Regions from separate parts of the Homo sapiens genome. Here region 1 is linked to region 2. Evidence: promoter capture Hi-C in 16 types of primary human blood cells and fetal thymus (Javierre and others, 2016). All regions are on one chromosome and are shown on one strand. The core of a region is centred on a gene start or on the middle of the fragment in contact, and the rest is flanking DNA. Distances in the headings are between cores, read along the strand shown. Region 1 overlaps TUT4 (terminal uridylyl transferase 4). Region 2 holds the start of SHISAL2A (shisa like 2A).

Region 1 (5,741 bases), core at 227-2,726, 130 kb before region 2:
TGTGGGTCACCAAGCCCGGCTAATTTTCGTATTTTTAGTGGAGAGGGGGTTTCGCCACATTGGCCAGGCTGGTCTCGAATTCCCAACCTCAGGTGATCTGCCTACCTCAGCCTCCCAAAGTGCTGGGATTACAGGCATGATCCACCGCACCTGGCTGTGCTTAGACTTTTTATCAAAGCATTTTTGAAAACGCTTTTTCAGCATCTACTGAGATAATCACATAGTTTTCTCTGTTTGCTAACATGGTAAATCACAATGAGCGGGGTTTTTTTTGTTTTTGTTGTTTTTTGAGATGAAGTCTTGCTCTGTTGCCCAGGCTGGAGTGCAGTGGCACGATCTGAGCTTACTGCAACCTCAACTTTCTGGGTTCAGCCTCCCAAGTAGCTGGGATTTCAGGCATGAGCCACGATGCCCAGCTAATTTTTGTATTTTTAGTAGAGACGGGGTTCACCATGTTGGCCAGGCTGGTCTCGAACTCCTAACCTCAGGTGATCCGCCCTCCTCAGCCTCCCAAAGTGCTAGGATTACAGGCCTGAGCTACTGCGCCTGGCCAATGAGGGATTTTTTAATGTAAAACTAACACTGCACTCCTGGAATAAAGCCCCACTTGATCATGACACATTCATTCCTCTAATATGCTGTTGGATTCAATTGGCTAAAGTTATATTTAGAATTTCTGCATCTATGTTCATGAGGAGTTTTGGCCTAAAGTTTTCTTTCTTTTTTTTTCTCCCGTCGGAGTCAACAAGTTAAGAATAAAGTTTTCCTTTATTGCAATATGTCTCTGGTTTGAATATCAGAGTTACGTGGACCTCATATTCACAGACTGAACTGGGAAGTATTTCTCCTCTTCAGTGTTCTGGAAAAATTTGTACAGAACAAGTACATGTATATTGATCAATTATCCAGAGCTCATTAACTTTTTTCTTTTTGTTTAATTTTTTCTTTCTGTGTTTCACTCTGGTGGTTTCCACTGCTTATCTTCAAGAGTTCACTAACCTTTTCTTTTGCAATGTTTGATGTACTATTATTCCTACCCAATATAGTTTTAATCTTAGATGTCGTAGTTTTCGTTTCTAATAGTCCTGTTCATATCTTTTTTATATTTTCCATGTCTCTACTTCATCTCTGAAACATCAAGAATACAGTTATATTAACTGTCTTACTGTCCTTCTCTGCTAATCCTAACAAAGGCGTCAGTTCAAGGTCAGTTATTATAGCTGACTTTTCTCTTCATCATGATTTGTATTTTCCTGCCTCTTTGCATACCTGATAATCTTTGACTAAATGCTACATTATGTGAACTTTTTTCAGTGATGAGTATTTTTGTATTTCTGTAATATTCCTAAGCTTTGTTCTGTAATGACATTAAATACTTGGAAACCATTTATCATTTTGAATGTTGCCTTTAAAATATTTTATGTAGGACCAGACCACATTTAGTTTAGGGCTAAATATCCCTACTACTGAAACAAGATTCTTCTGAGTACTCTACCCAGTGTCCCATGAAGCACGAGGCTTTCCAGTCTGGATAGGAAGAAGTCCTGTATGAGCACCAATCACTGGTCTAATTTCCTCTGACAATTCTTTCCCTGGGTTCAGGAAGCTTTTTCATATGCATGCACCAATCAGCATTGTGCTGAATACTTTAAGAGGATCATCCACAGTTCTCTGGATTTCTTTTTGTGCAGTTTTCTCATTTTAGTTACACTGTCCTGTGAATTTTAGCTATCTTGGACTTAGTGCACTCTAAGGTCTCTCTCTTCAACTGTGAGAGTCCACTGGGTTCCCTTCCCTATAGTGCAACCTAGAAACTCTCAAGCTGGAGCCAACATTGGGCTCAGGCCATTTGTTTTTCATTCATTGACTCTGTCGCCTGAAAACCACTGCTTCATATTTCTGTATTTTTTTTTTGTTTGTCATTTCAAGGGAAAAGTAAATCCACTGTTACTCTAACTTCACCAAAAGTATACGTCCTATATGGCTGCATTCAAGTTTGCTTTCTTTTTGTTCATTTCTATAATGTTCTAAAGTTTCCCTATACGGGCTGAGCATCCCTAATCTGAAAATCCAAAATGTGAAATGCTCCAAAATCTGAAGCTTTTAGAACACCAACATGATGCTCAAAGGAAATGCTCATTAAAGTATAATGCAAATATTCCAAAATCTGAAAAAATCCAAAATACTTTGGTCCCAAGCATTTAGGATAAGGTATACTCAATCTGTAATGTGTATAGGTATAGTTTTCCTTTTTCTTTTTTTTGTGATAGAGTCTCGCTCCCTCGCCCAGACTAAAGTGAAGTGGTGTGACCTTGGCTCACTGCAGCCTCCACCTCATGAGTTCAAACAATTCTTATACCTCAGCCTCCCAAGAAGCTGGGATTACAGGCACATGCCACCATGCCCAGCTAATTTTTATGTATTTTTAGTAGAAACAGGGTTTTGCCACGTTGCCCAGGCTGGTCTCAAACTCCTGGGCTCAAGCAACTCACCTGCCTCAGCCTCCCAAAGTGCTGGGATTACAGACCTTAGCCACTGCACCCAGCCTAGGTATGATTTTCTTTTTAAGTTTCTTGCTTGCCCAGGTGAAACCCCGTCTCTATTAAAAATACAAAAATCAGCCAGGCATGGTATGCCTGTAATCCTAGCTACCTGGGAGGCTGAGGCAGGGTAATCGCTTAAACCTGGGAGGCAGAGGTTACAGTGAGCCAAGATTGCACCACTGAACTCCAGCCTGGAAGACAGAGTGAGACTCTGTCTCCAAAAAAAAAAAAAAAAAGGTTTCTTGCTTGCAAGCCCGAGCTTCCTGGAACTAATGATAGGCATCTTCTGACATTTCTGGAAAATTCCTAATTATTATCACCTAAACTACTCCCTTGTCCCTGTTCTATCTGCTTCAGTTCATTTGTTGTTTTCAAGAAAACTATGTTGAGCACCTACTGTTGTCAGACACTGTCCTAAGGAACTCAGAAACAAAAATAACTAAATATGCCTTCTAGAACACTGCATATTGAAGTCTAGAAGGGAAGAGAAGGTAGACAGCCAGAATACAATGTGTTAGATTTTCTGATCAAAATATGTGGAAGTTGTTATGGGGGCACAGAGAAGGAGTATCCAACCCAGACTTGCTGAGAGGGTCAGGTAGAATATTTCTTAAAGAAGATACATGAGCTAAGACCTAGAGATAAGAGGTTACACAGTATTATTACTGCTGTTGTAACTTTAAAAAGAAAAAATTAAATAGCTAATTTACTAATACATTTTTAAAAGCCCTCTATTCATATCTATGTCTATGGGATATTTCAATAGAAATAACTGAAAAATTACAAATTCCCGAAGCTTATAAGTTTCTTAATTGTCTGCACTTCTCCAGCTTCACATCACATCATTTTCCCCCAGCTCTCTTTGTTCCAATCATACTAGACTTAAAGTTACTCATATGCCATGCCTTTTCCTGCCTAAAGACTTTTAATTCATGCTGCTTTTTGTGTAAAATGCTCTCCCACTTACCCTTCTAGGCCACTCACCTTTTTGCCATTTAAACTACTACTTCATTCAAAAGTCACTTTCTCAGAGAAACCTCCCCTGTTCTAGATCAAGTAAAATATCTTCATACACCTCCTTAGCACAATCTTCCCCCCCTAACAAGACTCATTATATTTAAATCTTTATTCAACGCATGCCCTCATCAATTCTTAGAAAATCTGAGGGCAGGAACCACAACTATCTTATTCACCACTGCCTAGAAGTAGCACACAAGAACTCAATAAACATCAGTTGGATGGACTAATTGTACCTAACAGCTCTAAACTTAGGAATCAACATTCTAAAGGATGAGCAAACCGGTCTCAACAAGGTTCCTTCCTGATTATCTCAGATAAGGAAGGCAACAATTGCTTCCAAAGCTATCACTTCAGTTACCAATATAAGATTGGACAAATATTTCATTTTTAGTTTCACAAATAAAAAATATTCAATATGGTTTTACAACTTGAAAAATAAATAAAAGTATTTTTTAAAAAGAACTTACCAAAATATTTTTCTTATGTCGTTTCTCCTTTATATGTTTATGAGCCCCCTGGATATTTTCAATGTGAATTAAGCAAAGTTTGCATAGATACCGACAATTGGTATATTCTGGTGATCGCTGAAGAGACAAATTTTAAAAATGCACTTTATTCAGAAAACAGAGGAGTAAACTATTGACTATATAAGTGAATAATACAATTATGTAAGTAGACAGAAATAAGCACTGAAGGTTTTTTCTTTATCCTTTCCTTCTTCTAAAGTAATAGTTTTTAATAAACTTATATACTGAAGAGATAGTAGTCCTTTTTCAAAATAGTTATCATAGGAGATTACATACTAACTTTAATACGATATCTAACAATATCATGGTAATGCTAAATTATGTTTAATATTCACCTACTATCATCTTTAGAATCCAATGTAAGAAAAGCAGTCGGGCTGAGTGTGGTGGCTATGCCTGTAATCCCAGCACTTTGGGAGGACGACGCTGGCAGATCACTTGAGCTCAGGAGTTGAAGACAAGACTGGACAACATGGAGAAACCCATTCTCTACTAAAAATACAAAATTTAGCCGTGCATGGTGGCGCAGGCTTGTAATCCCAGCTACTCTGGTGGCTGAGGTGGAAGAATTGTCTCAGCCTAGAAGGCAGAGTTTGCAGCAGCGAGCCGAGATCGCATCACTGCACTCAAGCCTGGGCAACAGAGCAAGACTTCGTATTAACAAAAAAAAAAAAAAAAAAAAAAAAGAAAAGTGGTCTTGCTATTTAGTCTTATTCCAATGTTGTCCCCAAAACTGATTTCAAATTTAACTTGCAGCCATTTTGATTACCATAAAAAAATAAAATCTGCCCTCGAATTGGGGATTTCAAAAGAATGGGCCACAAACATGTAAGAAATTTCAAAAGTTGAGTTCGAAAAACACTCCAATCACAGTATCATGGGGATAAATGAATAACCTCTTGAGGTCACAACTGAAGGGAATAACAATTCTAACACACTAAACTATCAGTCACAGAACGTCACTCATACTTCGTGTATGTATTCTCAAAATACTAATAAAACTTAGTAATTACTGAATACTTGTTATGTGCCAGGCACTATGCTAGGTGTTTAACATACAATTTGTCATTTTAATTCCCCTAATCATCTGATTAAATTGACATTATTTTCATCTTATAGATGTGAAAACAAAAGCCCATAGAACCTGCACCTTTTACAAGGATATAGCAAGTATTAAGTGGAAGACACTGAATTTAAATTCCTGTACACCTGAATCTGAAGTCAACATTCTACGCAGATTACACAATAAAAAATTACAAACACACAATAAATACATGTGGAATTTTAAAAGTTTCTAATGCCTTACACTGAAACTTTAGCAATGCTTAGTTTTTATTTCAGATTGATTTATGATATTCAACAGGCTTCAGCTTCTGACAAAAAGATTCTTTCACCTCAGAAAATTACATAATTTCTTTTAAATGAGAAACTTGCTCCAAATTTAGCAACAATCCTGCTACAGACTAAAAATAAATATAGCCATCCCTTATAGAGTATTAACCTTTCAACAACCCTATCAGAACTCCCCATTTTATTGGCAAACTAAATCTCAGGGATTAATTTGCCCAAGGCAACAAGTAAATAAGAAAAGTTGGCTCAATCTAGTTATTTCAATTCTCTAGCATAAAAATTCTGTCAAATCAGTTCCTAC
Region 2 (5,805 bases), core at 1,486-3,985:
CTCCATAAATATTTCTCCCTGCCCACGCTTCCCTCCTATGCCTTTTTTCCCTTCTGGAGTTGGGGACTCTGGCCCCAGGCCTCATTTGGGAAGGGAGGAAGAGGCGGTACAGGACTCTGATCAGTTACTGGCTATGTGGCTTTGGGTAAATTATTTAACCTCTCTCTCAGTTACCTTGTCTGCAAAATGGGAAGACTAACACCTACCTCAAAGGAAGTTTTCAAGGACTACATGACATACAGGATGGGTATTGCCTGGCACATCATAGCTCTGTAATAAGTGTCTGCAGGAGAACAGAATGAAGGAACACAATGCATATAATGAAGGAAAAAGCATTAAAGTAGGAGCTAGAACAGAGACATGAGAGGATGTTCACATAGAGTCCATGGAGCCCAAGGAGCCTCTGGATAGAGTGTAGAAGGTTCATGAATTTACGTGGGAAAAATCACATCCTTGGTATGCATTACCTCTAACTGAAATTCAGTATTTTCTTTCATCATGCATATTGGTAAGAAAACCCACGATAGTATTAGTAGTGCTTGTGACTTTGTCACCAATAGAAATCACAGATATTTTCATATTGTATTACAGTAGAGACATATTGAAATACTAGTTATTTTCATTCACCACTTCAAAATTATAGTAATTAATAGACTCATCTCTAGATCTTATTGACACTTTTTAAAAAGTAGGACAAATCATGATTCAATATAATTGGTATCCTCTGTAACCCTAAATAATTTTTTTTTTTAGTTAAAAACATTATTTGTGGCCTGGTGCGGTGGCTCACACCTGTAATCCCAGCACTTTGGGAGGCTGAGGTGGGTGGATCACTTGAGGTCAGGAGTTCAAGACCAGCCTGGGCAACATGGTGAAACCCTGTCTCTACTGAAAATACAAAAATTAGCCAGGCGTGGTGACGCATGCCTGTAATCCCAGCTGCTTGGGAGGCTGAGGCAGGAGAATCACTTGAACCCTGGAGACAGAGGTTGCAGTGAGCCGAGATTCCAGCCTGGATGACAAAGTGAGACTCCATCTCAAAACAAAACACAAAAAACAAAAACAAAAAAAAACCCACTATTCTGAATAGGGGTTCATAGGCTTCATCAGACTGCCAAGGGGGACATGGAGACAGACATGGGTATCAGCCCTGCCTGGGCCATTGATCGCTGTGTGGTATTGGACTTGTTATTTCAGGCACATTCACCCCTGCGTGGCTCACCCCAGAGGGCTGTTGGGAGGAACAAATTAATTCTTGGCTGGGAGAGGGTTTTGGAAATTGTTGGAGGCTTTCTAGTTTTGCCAAAAGCCAGGGCAGAGCGCTTTCTTCCTCCCAGCTGATCTCCAGGCCTCCAGGAAGCCTCTCCCTCCCAGAGGATTCCTCCCCTGTACTCTCCATCTGATAAAGAGGCTGAAGTGCACCCTCATTAGTGTAGGCTCTCCAGCTCCCAGTCTGCTCAGACCCACAGCTCAGGGGAGGAATGTTCTGGAGGATAATAACAGTTCCCTCCAGCTTTCATATTTGACCTTACAGTGACTCTTGAGGACACCGCCTCCCTCAGAGCCCTCCCCTGCTTCCTCAGATGGTGCCCCTCTGTGTCCAGGTCCTTGCATTTCCCTTTTTACTGCCCTGTGCTGTGATCGTCAGTCAGTCTGACTCCTCCATCAGACTGTGTGTTTCTCAACGGCAGGCCCAGATCTGATCCCTCTCAGGGGCCCTAGGGCCCACCCAGGTCAGGGCAGCGGCACAATCAGCATCTGAGGAGCTGGCCTGGGTGAGGACAAGGAACCCAAAGCTCAGAGAGAAACAGCAGGGAAGGGGTAGAGCTGGGCTGGAGCCCAGATCCCCTGATACCCACGGCCCGTTCCCCACACGTCCAAACCAAGGGCGAAGGAATCGGGGGTGCCCGAGGCACCACAGTAACTATTTCCTACCCTACCCACTGCTGTGAAAAATGTAGAGCTAAGGCACTGAAGGTGCTGTATGAAGCCCTTCCAGATGGCGTAAGGCAACAGGGTACATGGGGGAAGCCAAGGCACTGAGAGCCCCTTCAGACTGTGGTTCTCTGATGCTAGTGAGAACACTGCCCTTGTTCTCTGGAAGTAATTTTTCAAAATGGACAGGTCTGCTGACTTTCTTTGCTGGTCAGTGTGGGGAAGGAGGTTACCGTCTGGGCCCATCCACACCCATATTCGGCTCCTTGTCCCAGGCCAGTGGCAGGCAGTATGAACAGAAGAGTGTGGACATTGTCCGTGCACGAGCTAGCTCTCAGCGAGACTAGCAGGGACTCCAGATGATGAGGACATCTAAAAGCCCGCTAGAAAAGAGGCACCATGAAAGCCGCAGAAAGAGCAAGGACTTCCTACTAGGCCGCCCCCGGTTAAAATCTCGTGGGCTTAGGAACTCCGGGAAATGGCTTCTCTCTGGCCCTCAGCTCTCACCTTTAACACGGATGCGAACATCCCCGGGCCCCTGGGTTTTTGCGGAGGTTGGGTGAGGTTGTGTTCACTCTCCTCACTGACCCCGCCGTGTGGTCGCCGGCTGGTGCCTTGTCTGTCTGCCCCAGCCCCGAATGCCCCGAGACTCCCGGCGCCGGCTCGGTGCAGGTAAGGCGCCCGCGCCCTGGCCTCGAATTCCCGCCCCGCCACTCTGGCCGCGTCGTGCTGTCGTTGCGCACCCAGCGCCCTCGTGCAGGCAGGGGGAGCGCAGTGGGGAGGGGGCAGGAAGCGCAGGCAGAGCCAGGCGAGCACGCGGCTCCCGGCCCAGCTCCCCGCGTCCGCTCCGGCTCCTGCCGCGTTCCAGCAGCCGTCACTCCCGCCGCCGGCCCCCGCCGCCCGCCCCGCCTGCCCCTACCCCTCCGCGCGGGCCGGGCACCTGGCCGCCGCTCGGTCCTCGGGGCCCCGCGCTGCTGTCTCTGTCTCGGCTTCTCTCGGCCCCTGGGTCTCTTCGTCTCTGCCGTTCTCAGGCTCAGCTCCGTCTCGCTCGGTCCCTCGCTTCCCCGCCGGGCTCTAGCCGGCCGTCTGGTGGCCCGAGGTGGCGGCGGGCTGGGCGCGGGGCGCGATGAGCGGCGCCTGCACGAGCTACGTGAGCGCAGAGCAGGAGGTGGTGCGCGGCTTCAGCTGCCCGCGGCCGGGGGGCGAGGCGGCCGCTGTCTTCTGCTGCGGCTTCCGCGACCACAAGTACTGCTGCGACGACCCGCACAGCTTCTTCCCCTACGAGCACAGCTACATGTGGTGGCTCAGGTACCGTCCCTGGCCCTCACCCTACCTTGAACCCCACTCCAGTCTCAGCGCCTTCACCCCAGCCTCAGCCCCCACCCGAGTGTCCACCTGAACATCAGCAGCAAGCTCTAGTCCTTACCGTCCTCATGCCCACAGCATCAACCACCCCGTGAAACCCCATCTCAGCTCGATTTCCTCATCCTGACCCCAACCATTATTTAGAGCCATGCTCGGACCTCCCCCTCCTCTAATCCAAAACAATCCTCACTCTATCCCCACCCCAAACTTCATTCCATCACCACCCTCATCCCAACCCCAAATCACATATCAAGCCTCCCCCTAACAGCAACTTCCATCTTCAAACATTCACAGGCAGCCCAACTCCACCCCAATCATCATCCCACCAAGGTGCCCTTCCTAATATCAACACCAGCCTTATTCCTGACTTTCCACACTCCCCAGTACTGACCCCAGACCTTATTCTATCACCAGCCCCAACCTCCTCTTCTGTCCTGCCTGCAGTCCCACCTCAGCTCTTCTCCCACATCCTGACTCCAAATATTATTAATATCTAGATCTACATCCAAACCTCAACCTCCAGACTTAACCCTCGCCTGGTGCTACACCCCAACCCCAGCCTCAGCCCAGCGTCAACCCTTGGTTCCCTTTTGTATTTAGTCATTCTTTCGGGCACTCTCTACTGAGCACTTGGTGTGTGCCAAGCCCTGTGGTGAGTGCTGGGGATGTACCCCATCCTCAAGCTAAGGCAGAAGACTCGGGAGTCAGAGCTGCCTCCAAGTTCATCATGAGACAATGGCATAGTGCAGAAGCTAGCTCAGGCCATATTCATAGAAGTGTTGACTCTCCACCCATAGGACCTCAGTTTCCCCATTTGTTCAGGGAAGAGGTTGCATTCCTGGAGCCTAAGTGTTGGCTTGAGAGGGTAATAGGTCTCAATCCCCCTGGGTCTCCAAAGGCCTTACCTGGAGAATGGAACTTGATCCTCAGCCTACTTTGGGAAACAGGCATCAGCAAAAATTGAGTGGGCCATCTCAGTAGTTAGTGATTTTCCTGTCCCTGGAGGTATATGAGCAGAGGCTGCTGCCCTCTGGGTGGGAAAGGACAGTGTCCTATGCCACGAAAACTTCTCAAGTCTCTGGCTTTTCATCTATCAAACGGGCAGTAGGATGATCAATCATTGCCCTGATTTCTGACTAAGGCAGTGGTAACGGTCAAATGACATACATAACAGAGCTGAAATCAACTTGACATATGCCAATGACAATTACAAATATTATTGCTTTTTCTAGGTGACTCGATCCACAATTCTAAATGATTTTCAGATGGCCAGGTTATCAGATCCTACATATTTGTGCTATCTATAACCCAGGGAATTATATTAATGTATTTTCTGTTCATCCATATATTCATTCATTCATTCATTCATTCTAGCCTTTACTTTGTGCCAGGCACTTTGCAAGGTATTGGAGACACAAAAATCAATTATTCCCTGCCCCTGAGGAACTCACAGTTTATTTAGAGATACAATGGTATTCACTTGACAAGTTCATTTTGCTTGCTGCCCAAAAAAACCAATGCACTGAGAACAACAGGTTTTGCAGCAAAGAAAGAGTTTAATAATCACAGGGCCAACCAAGTGGCAAAATAGGACATAATTCTCAAATCCACACCCTCATTCCCCACCCCCCACCCCACCAGAGAATTCGGAGACTATGGTTTCTCAAGGAATGGTGGCAGATGGGGCTAGGGAATAGGGAATGCCAATTGGTTGGGTTAGGGATAAAATCGTAGGGGATCAAAGCTACCTTCTTGCACTGAGTCAGTTGCTGGGTAGGGGAGCTCACAAGACCAGTTGAGCCAGTTTATTGGTATGGGTTACTGGTCCAGGTGGCACCAACTGGTCTATCAAAATGAAAGGTCTGAAAGATACCTCAAACACCAGTTTTAGGTTTTACAACTCCTCCTATAGGAGGAGTTGAGGAGATTACAAATCATGTGACCTCCAGCTACACGACTCCTGAACCATAATTCTAACCTTGTGGTTAATTTGTTAGTTTAACAAAGGCAGTTGCAGTCCCTGAGCAAGGAGGGTGTTAGTTTTAGGAAGGGGCTGTTATCATCTTTGTTTTAAAGTTAAACTATAAACTAAATTCCTCTTATAGTTAACTTGGCCTGTGCCCAGGAATGAAGAAAGACAGCTCGTAAAGTTAGACACAAGATGGAGTCAGCTATGTCAGATTTCTCTCACTGTGATAATTTTTCTGTATCAGATTTCTCTTACTGTGATAATATTCACTAGGGCACTTTCACAACATTCACCTAAAGTGAAACAATGAAGTTTTGTTGAAGGCCCACTGTGTAGTTGGCATTGAGCTAGGCTCTGAAATAAGATGGCACTGACCTCCCTTGTAAGTACAGAGACAATGTGGAGCTTTGGGGCTGGTCAGAATCTGTCACTTATTATCTATGTGGATTGGAAAAGTTATTTAACTTCCTAGTATTTTCTCTCAACTTTAAAATGGTGATAGAGATATTTGTGTGATAGTACAGAGACAGTGTGGA

What was found. The method cuts DNA at HindIII sites, captures the fragments that hold promoters and counts their contacts. A CHiCAGO score of 5 or more calls a contact.
Region 1: a contact is called between a fragment that was not itself captured here and the fragment with the promoter of SHISAL2A in region 2, in 4 of 17 cell types (non-activated CD4 T cells, total B cells, total CD8 T cells and 1 more). The highest score is 8.1, in non-activated CD4 T cells.

The regions. Positions count from the first base shown.
Region 1 is chr1:52,505,566-52,511,306 of GRCh38, forward strand. TUT4 (terminal uridylyl transferase 4) reads right to left here. Exons shown (of 30, transcript NM_001009881.3): 4 at 4,031-4,147. Among named protein-coding and RNA genes, the nearest start is that of TUT4, 45 kb to the right of the region's middle. The HindIII fragment of the contact is 256 bases long and covers 1,349-1,604 here.
Region 2 is chr1:52,630,433-52,636,237 of GRCh38, forward strand. SHISAL2A (shisa like 2A) reads left to right here and starts at 2,736. Exons shown (of 3, transcript NM_001042693.3): 1 at 2,736-3,243. The coding sequence starts at 3,062. It overlaps LOC124904178 (a long non-coding RNA gene), which reads right to left and starts at 3,023. Exons shown (of 2, transcript XR_007066084.1): 1 at 2,876-3,023. RefSeq lists silencers at 2,614-2,723, 2,814-3,003, 3,014-3,063. The HindIII fragment of the contact is 18,193 bases long and covers 1-5,805 here.